Linked DNA regions of Homo sapiens: region 2 is linked to region 1. Evidence: promoter capture Hi-C in human tissues and cell types (Jung and others, 2019). All regions are on one chromosome and are shown on one strand. The core of a region is centred on a gene start or on the middle of the fragment in contact, and the rest is flanking DNA. Distances in the headings are between cores, read along the strand shown.

Region 1 (5,315 bases), core at 1,084-3,583:
CACAAGGAAACCGAGACCCAGAAAGGAGAGTCGTTTCCTCAGTAGCATAAAGTCACCAGGTGTTCAGATTCGGCATAGGGCTCATTCTACGCCCTAGTTCCTTTTCCCCGGGAATGCTTTTTCTGTGATGCTTCTTGATGCTATATTTTCCTATTTATTGAAGGTGAAAATAGTCATATTGCTGAAAATCCTTATAATATATACTTGAGTGCCTTAAATAAAAGGCTTTGTGTTAATAAGATTCTAGAATTCAAGAAAAACTGTTGTTAGAACGAGGACCAGATGGCCAACTTCTAGAGAAAGTGCTTCCAGATACCTCTGAATGACTCTTCAGATTTGAGAACAAGGGCCTTTCTAGAGAAGGAAAACCATTAGGCTCCTTCTTAGTCCGAGGCTGGTCAGGCCCCTTGTCTAAAATTCCCCCCAAATGTGTGGGGTACTTTGTTTTTTATTAAGCAGGATTAAGTTACACTAAGGTGCTTTGGATTAAGGCCTTGACATCAACCCAAACACATCTAGGTGCACAGAACAATCAAAAAGTGACTTTTGCGCAGAATTTAAGGTAAACGTTTAGGCAGAAGTGACTGAGAAGAATAAAAGCCTAGATAACCTCCAGGAGAAGAGTGAAGCCCAGGCATACCCCAGAATCGTGACACTTACTGCCACCGTACATCTGGATGTACTGGATGACTAACAGTACAGTCTATTTTTTCAAGAAGGTTATAAAAATCTATGGGCTCCACACTGCGTGTAATGTGGGTGAGGTAACAAGCTGGCGAGAATTTTTGCTTCTGCATTTCCTGATTTAGGAAAGAGGAGTGGTAGGGGTGTAAAAGGTGTATTATGCCTATTACTGAATCTGTATGTATTTGGTCTAATAGTGGTTGCTTGGGCAAAAGTTACTCTCCTACACTGAATATGGAACCCCTTCCAAATCTTGTTCAGGTCCTCAAAGAATCAATGAAACCATTTTCCCTTTCTGATAAATCCGCTGGTCTTGTATCTAGTTGTGTGGATCCATAAATTAAAATACAGAGGATCATTTTCTCTGATCCAAAAATTCTTGGTTTGGGGGTAGTTAAAATGAAACTTCTGAAATTCTATCCTTAGTACGGACATTTAGGACCCAGGGGCTACATCCTAGAATGGAATTGTGCCCTGCTTCCATAAAACGGTTGATAAACCAACAGACACGACTGGATTGTCTTAAACCAAGTTCAACTGTCATTCCATTTTAATCAAAAAGTAAATTGGATTCAGCATATACGAATATATTGACTATCAGTACAACTGAGCCATACAACTGATAGTCTAAGGCTGATGACAAGGAGAAAGCTCCTAAAACAAGGCTTAGGGGAAGGCTGTTCCCCTGTAAGCAAAGCGGACTGAGGGCATTGGTGGCGCAGCAGCGTTCAGAAGTAGAGGGAAGTTTTGATGTATCAAGTACCGAGGGAAACACACACAGCGTGTCTGGAAACCATCAGAAGATGCTAGAAGGAAGTAGTCATGGATAATTCTAGAAATTTCTAGAACACCGACTGGAGGGGGTCATTGTTTAAGATGAGTACAGCCGAGTTTCTCTCCAATTTAAGACACAAGACTGGAGAGAAAGGCGTCGTAGTAAACAGCCCCAACCGGGGGAGCAGGGGGTGTGATAATGAGGCGTTAAGGGGCATTAGGGACAGTAAGAAAAGGAGAGTTGGGGTGACGATTATTGAGCACTGCTATAGGAGGCGGCTCTCGCAGGGATAATCAAGGGAGAGGGGTGTGAAATAAGGGTAACGAATTGCAGGGGTAAACTGTGGGAAGGGGCTGCGCAGACTTCAACAGCAAAGAAAAAGAAGGAACGGGGCTGGGGCGTGGCCCAGAGAGGGAACGGCTCAATAACGGGCTACCGGGTGAAAAGAAGCCGGGTGGGGAGGCGCTCTGCTGACAGCTGCCGCTCCCCCGTGGCGCCCACAGGGTTAAAAATCAGGGGCCACGGGACCAGGCCGAACTCGGTTTCCAGGGCAACGGCTCCACAGTTCCGGCAGCGCAGGCCCGTACCATTGCGCGGGCGCGGGGGAGCGGGAGCGGCGGAGGGGACGCGCTGCAGGGCGGCGGAGCCGGGGCCGGCCCGGGCGCTACCAAACGCACGGCCCGCCTGCTCGCCCGGGGTCTGCGCCGAGCCGCGCTCCGGCCGGACGGCCGCGGCGTCCTTGGTGCGGGGGCCGGCAGCTCCCAAGTGGCCGCGGACGGCGGGGGAGAAGGAACGCACGCCGCCGGCCGGGATTGGCCTCCTGGTCCCCCCGCCTGGGCGGCGGAGTGCGGGCGGCCCGGGGCTGGGAGGTTTGAAAAGCGGGCGAGAGACAAAGGCAGCAGGAAGCCTCCTCCGCGCCCGGAGCCCGTGCGCCCGGCCCCCGGGGCCCCCTCGCCGCCCGCCGGCCCGCGGAGCAGCGGCGGCGGCAGGAGGCGGAGGATGCGGCAGGGGGCGTGGGCGCGGCGGCGCGGGCGGAGCGGCGCGGCCCGGGCGCGGCGTGGGTAGAGCCGAGGCGGCGGCGGCGGCCGGCCTCCGGGAGCGAGAGCGAGGCGCCTTCCCCGCCCGGGATGTGAGCGCCGTGCGGAGCCCGGGGCGGGGGAGGGCCGGGCCGGAGGCGCAGCCGGCAGGAAGGAAGGACGGACGGACCAGGAGGAGGAGCGGCGGCGGCGGCCGGAGCCGGAAGGCGGGGAGGGGCCGGCCGTTGGGCCCGAGGCGGCGGCGGCGGCGGCGGCGGCGGCTGGGGAGAAGCGCTCTCGTCGCCTGCCCGAGGCCGGAGCGGCGGGGCCCGCGCCTCCTCCCCCCAGCGCCGCGGAGGGGGGAGGAGGAAGATGGAGACCCACATCTCATGCCTGTTCCCGGAGCTGCTGGCCATGATCTTCGGCTACCTGGACGTCCGGGACAAGGGGCGCGCGGCGCAGGTGTGCACCGCCTGGCGGGACGCCGCCTACCACAAGTCGGTGTGGCGGGGGGTGGAGGCCAAGCTGCACCTGCGCCGGGCCAACCCGTCGCTGTTCCCCAGCCTGCAGGCCCGGGGCATCCGCCGGGTGCAGATCCTGAGCCTCCGCCGCAGCCTCAGCTACGTGATCCAGGGCATGGCCAACATCGAGAGCCTCAACCTCAGCGGCTGCTACAACCTCACCGACAACGGGCTGGGCCACGCGTTTGTGCAGGAGATCGGCTCCCTGCGCGCTCTCAACCTGAGCCTCTGCAAGCAGATCACTGACAGCAGCCTGGGCCGCATAGCCCAGTACCTCAAGGGCCTGGAGGTGCTGGAGCTGGGAGGTTGCAGCAACATCACCAACACTGGCCTTCTGCTCATCGCCTGGGGTCTGCAGCGCCTCAAGAGCCTTAACCTCCGCAGCTGCCGCCACCTTTCGGATGTGGGCATCGGGCACCTGGCCGGCATGACGCGCAGCGCGGCGGAGGGCTGCCTGGGCCTGGAGCAGCTCACGCTACAGGACTGCCAGAAGCTCACAGATCTTTCTCTAAAGCACATCTCCCGAGGGCTGACGGGCCTGAGGCTCCTCAACCTCAGCTTCTGTGGGGGAATCTCGGACGCTGGCCTCCTGCACCTGTCGCACATGGGCAGCCTGCGCAGCCTCAACCTGCGCTCCTGTGACAACATCAGTGACACGGGCATCATGCATCTGGCCATGGGCAGCCTGCGCCTCTCGGGGCTGGATGTTTCGTTCTGTGACAAGGTGGGAGACCAGAGTCTGGCTTACATAGCCCAGGGGCTGGATGGCCTCAAGTCTCTCTCCCTCTGCTCCTGCCACATCAGTGATGATGGCATCAACCGCATGGTGCGGCAGATGCACGGGCTGCGCACGCTCAACATTGGACAGTGTGTGCGCATCACGGACAAGGGCCTGGAGCTGATCGCTGAGCACCTGAGCCAACTCACCGGCATAGACCTGTACGGCTGCACCCGAATCACCAAGCGCGGCCTGGAGCGCATCACGCAGCTGCCGTGCCTCAAGGTACTCAACCTGGGACTCTGGCAGATGACGGACAGTGAGAAGGTCAGGTGAGGGCGGCAGCACCAGCTCCCCTTGTCCCGCCCTGTTCATCCTCCCATTACCACCGCCCCCACACACTCACACGCACACTTACGCACAGATCATTGCAGCGGATGAGATGGGGCTATGACAGAAGCCTCAGGCTCGTTTCCTCCTCCCTCCTCCAGCCCCCTCCCGGCTTCCAGCCCATTCTCTTTGCAGCTGGGGTTCCTACCCTACCCTACTCCCAGCTCCTTTTCCCCGCGGATGGAGAGATGGACTCTGCTGCTTACCCACCCACTCCCCTGCAGGGGGTGGAGGACTGATTCAGCTACTGTATCCCCACTGCTGTGACTGGAAATGGGGGTGGGGAGTGACTGGTCTTTTCAACCCTGGGGAGTTGAGGAAAATGTCTGCTTTCACTTCAGCTTTCATTTGAATACTGTGATCTGGTTTTTATTTTGAAATGTATAAAAAGCAAACCCAGCTACAAAGGCCTTTTCACCCTTCCACTTTGTAACTAATCCCAGTCTCTTCTCATCACTCCTCCTCTTACAGTACTCTGCTATTCATGCTCATTTCATGTTCTTAATCTTCTTTCCTGTTTAAAAATTTTTTTTTGGAAAAAATTTGAAATCATGGTCCTTTTTTCTGCTGAATATATTCTATATATTATATATATATAAATTATATATATATATATATACATATATATGTCTGGCTACCTCGTTTTAGTTTACTTTTTTTCTGAAGCCCTGGAATTCTACAAGAGAGATATTTTGAGACTGAAACATGTTTGTGCCTAGACTGGAAAGATGCCCTTGGGTTTGTCCGTCTTTTTGTGTTGGCTTCTTCCCAGCCTCCATCCGTCCAGTGTGCCCCACTTCCACATTCTGGCTATAATTTCCTTTTTCTCCTTGTTCATTGGGATTTGAGGACCTATTTCTAAATCTTAATTTATAGCACAAATATGTGGGAGCAATGAGAGTTGAACCGTTGTTTTTGTTGGAGATGCAGATTGTGTCTTGAAAATGATGATTATATATGCAAATTCTGCCCTACCCTCACCCTCTTCCAAGTTTCCCCCCAAAAAGGTCACACAGTGCGGCTTCCTGTGGGAAACAGGAGCAGAGCTGGCCTGCAGAGCCCCTGGGGCTGTGATGAAGCTCATATCTTATCTCTGTTCTATTAACAAAATGGGAGTTTGTGGGTTTTAAAAAATTCCGTTTCTAAATGGAGGAATAGATGACTTTCTTTCTTTTGGTGGGGGTTGGGACTTGTGGCTTTAAAGAAATCAC
Region 2 (5,315 bases), core at 1,555-4,054, 520 kb after region 1:
TCTGTATATCGACTTTTGTCATATTACAAATCATTTCTATCTGTATCTCTGTATATCGACTTTTGTCATATTACAAATCATTTCTATCTGTATCTCTGTATATCGACTTTTGTCATATTACAAATCATTTCTATCTGTATCTCTGTATATCGACTTGTCGTATTACAAATCATTTCTATCTGTATCTCTGTATATCGACTTTTGTCTTATTACAAATCATTTCTATCTGTATCTCTGTATATCGACTTTTGTCATATTACAAATCATTTCTATCTGTATCTCTGTATATCGACTTGTCATATTACAAATCATTTCTATATGTATCTCTGTATATCGACTTTTGTCATATTACAAATCATTTCTATATGTATCTCTGTATATCGACTTTTGTCATATTACAAATCATTTCTATCTGTATCTCTGTATATCGACTTGTCATATTACAAATCATTTCTATCTGTATCTTTGTATATTGACTTTTGTCATATTACAAATCATTTCTATCTGTATCTTTGTATATCGACTTTTATCATATTACAAATCATTTCTATCTGTATCTTTGTATATCGACTTTTGTCATATTACAAATCATTTCTATATGTATCTTTGTATATCGACTTTTGTCATATTACAAATCATTTCTATCTGTGTCTTTGTATATCAACTTTTGTGACTCCTCTCTCCTTGTTCTTTGCCCATTTTGTTATTGAACATTTTTTCTTAATCCATTTTAAGAGCTCTTCATATTAGGAAAATAACCTTTCACCTGCTGTGTATGTTACAAATATTTTTCCAAGTCTGCCATTTTTCTTTTAACATTGTTTATGATGACTTTTAATAGATATTTTCTTTTTTAATACAAAGACAATGACATTTTCCTTTATCATTTCCGGTTTGGGTATTATGCTTTTAGCAAGCAGTGAGCTTTCAATTCTGGTAGTCTTCAAACACTTGAAAAGCACTGCTATTTCTTTCGAAGAATAAACTCACCAAAAAAAAAAAAATCAGGAATTTAAATTCATGAATATAAATTTTAAAATGCATTTCACTACCAGCATCATCTTTTAAAGATTAACAGTTGCTGGAGTTCAAAAGACCTTCAATAAAAAGATGTATCAAAATGCTAATTCTCTGAAGCCTAGTTTCTTTCCCTTGGAAGTCAAAAAAAATCCTGACACTCCTGAGTGAATATATCCCAAAGGGAAATACCAGAAGTGAAATTCAACAGGGAAGCTGATTTCTAGGTATGACTGTTCCTCCTTTTCTGACCATTCGTCATCAATTCATTCAAGTCAGGAGAAATATATGTTGGCTACAGTTAACAGTTTCACATACGCTTTGGCACATATGGCTAAATGTAGCATGGCAATTACTATTTTGGTAAAGAAAGAAAACATTAACTACTAGTGTGTCTGGTTCTTCAGCTCCGCCTGCACCCATTTTACTATAGTATAAAAATAAAACAATGCTCTGACTTGGTAGCCTAGAAGTCTATACAGCAGTTTTCTCCACTAAAATATAAACCAACATTTCCTCTTTTGGCTACAATCAGGCTAGCTTTATTTTATAAAAATTCCTGCCAACTCCTTTAGAAGAAGGAAAAAAGCAGACTACAAGCAAGGCTACTCTTTCTCCAGCATATTCATACAGAAGATAAAATGGGCATATTCACACATCACAGACATCTATAATGATCAACCAAAAACAGATACATTGAGTTTAAGGAAAGATCGAGTTGTAAGATAATACTAGAATGTCTATTTGGGAAGTCTGTTCCCGACACACTGCAAAATGATCTCACACTCCAAATTTTATAGCAACACTCACTAGTCTACTTCTCACTCTAACACTCAGCTTGATTTTGAAAGGCTGGGAAAGTATTTGTCTAAAATTTACTCCAGGGACTGTACTATTATTACACCAAGCTATATCTCAATGAAATGGTAGGATATTGTGAACAACAATAATGAAAATTCTTAACTATCTGACAGGGCCTATGACTTTTATTACAACAATTAGATATCTGCAAAAACAATGACAGATCACAACTACTATTCATATATTTTAGATAAATATCAGAAGCTCTTCTGAGGCAGAACTTCCAACAAATAAACTGTCATTAGTTTCTTAGAACAAGAGTACACTTTGATCCCGTTTATTCTCATTCCTAAAATAACAGAACTATGTAGTCTAGAGATATTTTTAGAGAAAAAAAATTATGGACACGTGAAATGGTCATGATTACAAACAAAATATATCACAGAGAACTCAGTACACTGTTTATCAAGAAGATCAGAGTCAGAGAAAACACCAGTATTGTACCCTTTTACAAATGTTAAATTAAGAACATTTTTTTCTGAAACATATAAATACATGTATTAAATAAACTTTATTAATGTAACACGCAAAAGAGTTTTAAAGAATTCTTAAGTCAACCAAGTCAAGCTTCCGGTTTGGTTGGGCTATCTGATGTTCCCGTCTGTGCTGCCCAGGGCTGTATGCTTATCCACAGAATAGCACTTCTAAGACTGATCTGCAATTTAATTCTTTGTATTTATCATCAATAAACTTTCTAGGACTTAGGAATGTCATCTTTTTACCCTGTCATAAATTTTTTATGAAAAACTGACAAAAATTAAATGTTGAGAAATTATGTTGAAAGTAAATGGCTACTGTATATTAGCCGCATTGCAAGTATCTGGGAAGTTATACCTCTTCCTTAAAAAAATAATGCAGCCAATTACTCTTATTCTAAAAAAATCACTCATGCCTATAATCCCAGCACTTTGGGAAGCCAAGGCAGGCGGATCACAAGGTCAGGAGTTCAAGATCAGCCTGACCACCATGGTGAAACCCCGTTTCTACCAAAAATACAGGAATTAGCCAGGCATGGTGGTGCGCGCCTGTAAACCCAGCTACTCAGGGGGCTGAGGCAGGAGAATTGCTAGAACCGGGGAGGCAGAGGTTGCAGTGAGCTGAGATCCTGCCACTGCACTCCAGCCTGGGCGACAGAGTGAGACTCCATCTCCAAAAAAAAAAAAAAGAAAAAGAAAAAAAAAATCAGTTCTACACCAACCAATACAAGTAATTCTTAAATCCCAACTGGCCAAAATACAAACCACAGTCCTAATAAAAATGTTAATTATATGCTCTAGGTTTATTCAATATTTGACCTGAAGCAAAAAGAAGCATTTTCAGATAATCAACAGTCAACAAGAATCTTTCATAGTTGTACTATACGAAGCACAGCAAAAGTACAGGATAAAGTTCTTATCCAAAAATAAAGCTCACAAATGGGTAAAACATAAGAGTTATAACCTATTACAAATTTTAAATTAACAACAATATTCAAGAAAGACAAAAGGAACACAGATAAAGCATTTATTTTACATGCAATATATTCAAATGAAGCTTAGAACCTATAAGATCACTATGAGCTAAACTCATAAAACTTTAATATATCTCTATGAAAACAAAGTACAGTTGACCCTTGTACCACACAGGTTTGAACTTTGAGGGTCTGCTGACACATGGATTTTCTTCTGCCTCTGCCAAATCTGAGACAGCAATACCAATCCCTTTTCTTCTTCCTCTTCCTCAGCCTACTCAAAACAAAAATGATGAGGATGAAGATCTTCGTGATGGTCCACTTCTACTTAATGAATAGTAAGTGTATTTTCTCTTCCTTGTGATTTTCTTTTTTTTTCTTTTCCCCCGAGACAGTCTTGCTCTGTTTCCAAGAGATGGAGTGCAATGGAGTGCACTTTTGTTGCCCAGGCTGGAGTGCAATGGCACAATCTCAGCTCACTGCAACCTCCGCCTCCCAGGTTCAAACGATTCTCCTGCCTCTGCCTCCAGAGTAGCAGGGATTACAGGTGAGCACCACCACGCCTGGCTAATGTTTGTATTTTTAGTAGAGACGGGGTTTCACCATATTGGCCGGGATGGTCTTGATCTCTTAACCGTGTGATCCACCAGCCTCGGCCTCCCAAAGAGCTGGGATTACAGGCATGAGGCACCACACCCAGACAATTTTCTTAATAACATTTTCTTTTCTCTAGCTTGCTTTAAAGAATGCAGTATATACATAAAATACATGTTAACATATAACATACAAAATATGTGTTAATCAACTATGTTATCAGGCCCCTGGTCAACAGTAGGCTATTAATAGTTAAATTTGGGGGGTGTCAAAACTTATACACAGATATAACCCCACTTTGTACAAACGTCAACTGAATTCTAATTTCCATAATTTTAAAAGAAGAAACATTTTAAAAGAAGAAACTAATTTAATGAGTCTGAACCACAGAGAATGAGACAGGGGAAGAGCCTCCAAGGTAATTTACTCCTCCTTATTGTTAGTTTAGTATTCTTTGAGTTAATGACAGAGATTTATTTCCTGTACAGCAAAGCACACTGAAAGCCCTCAAATATTAAACCAAATCAAAGTTTTCAGACTAATCTAAACACAAGCAGGAGACTCACCAAAATGCAAAAAAGACCCGCACTAGAACTCAAAGGGATGGATTAAATTGTTTAACATTCTCACCCATTATTTGGAGCTTACTAACCAAAGTTATTTTCCTCTAAAAAAAGATGTCAGAGTCAAGAAAATGAATGAGCAATTACACTAGAATTCTAACAACTACTCTCTGCCTCTGAATCCAGGAAAAATAAGATCATCTATCTTTTTGCTCTGCGAATGCTGTACATAAATCTAAGTAGCAAGATAATGGCTGGAAAACATCAAAATTTGGACAACAGGTTTATTTCAGCAATAAACATAATCCATCTTTATGCTACCACAACCCAGAATAGAAGTTAAAGAATAAATGAAAATGTGGTCGGGTGCAGTGGCTCATGCCTGTAATCCCAGCACTCTGGGAGGCCAAAGTGGGTAGATCACTTGGGGTGGGGGAGTTTGAGACCAGTTTGACCAACATGGTGAAACCCCATCTCTAAAACTACGAACCTTAGCTGGACATGGTGGCATCCTATAATCCCAGCTATTCGGGAGGCTGAGGCAGGAAAATCGCTTGCACCCAGGAGTTGGAGGATGCCAAGATCACGCCACTGCACTCCAGCCTGGGTGACAGAGCAAAGCTCTGTCTCGGAAAAAAAAGAAAAAGGAATAAATGAAAACACTATCAAAATGGGTAAGTCCTACTGTCATAAATGCATTCTATATACACCACATGACGTTTCAGTCAACAAGAGACTGCATGTATCATGGTGGTCCCATAACATTACAATGGAGCTAAAAAATTCCTATCACAGGCCAGGCATGGTGGCTCACACCTGTAATCCCAGCA

What was found. The method cuts DNA at HindIII sites, captures the fragments that hold promoters and counts their contacts. A contact is called where the count stands out against the background at its distance.
Region 2: a fragment that was not itself captured here is called in contact with the fragment with the promoter of FBXL14 in region 1 in 1 of the 25 tissues and cell types used here (dorsolateral prefrontal cortex).

Annotation. Positions count from the first base shown.
Region 1 is chr12:1,591,599-1,596,913 of GRCh38, reverse strand. It overlaps FBXL14 (F-box and leucine rich repeat protein 14), which reads left to right and starts at 2,333. Exons shown (of 2, transcript NM_152441.3): 1 at 2,333-4,041. The coding sequence starts at 2,848. RefSeq lists enhancers at 1,629-1,698, 3,069-3,258, 3,776-4,379 and silencers at 1,959-2,828, 3,809-3,858. The HindIII fragment of the contact is 15,118 bases long and covers 1-5,315 here.
Region 2 is chr12:1,074,126-1,079,440 of GRCh38, reverse strand. All of the region lies in intron 2 of ERC1 (ELKS/RAB6-interacting/CAST family member 1), which reads right to left. Among named protein-coding and RNA genes, the nearest start is that of ERC1, 86 kb to the right of the region's middle. The HindIII fragment of the contact is 5,096 bases long and covers 257-5,315 here.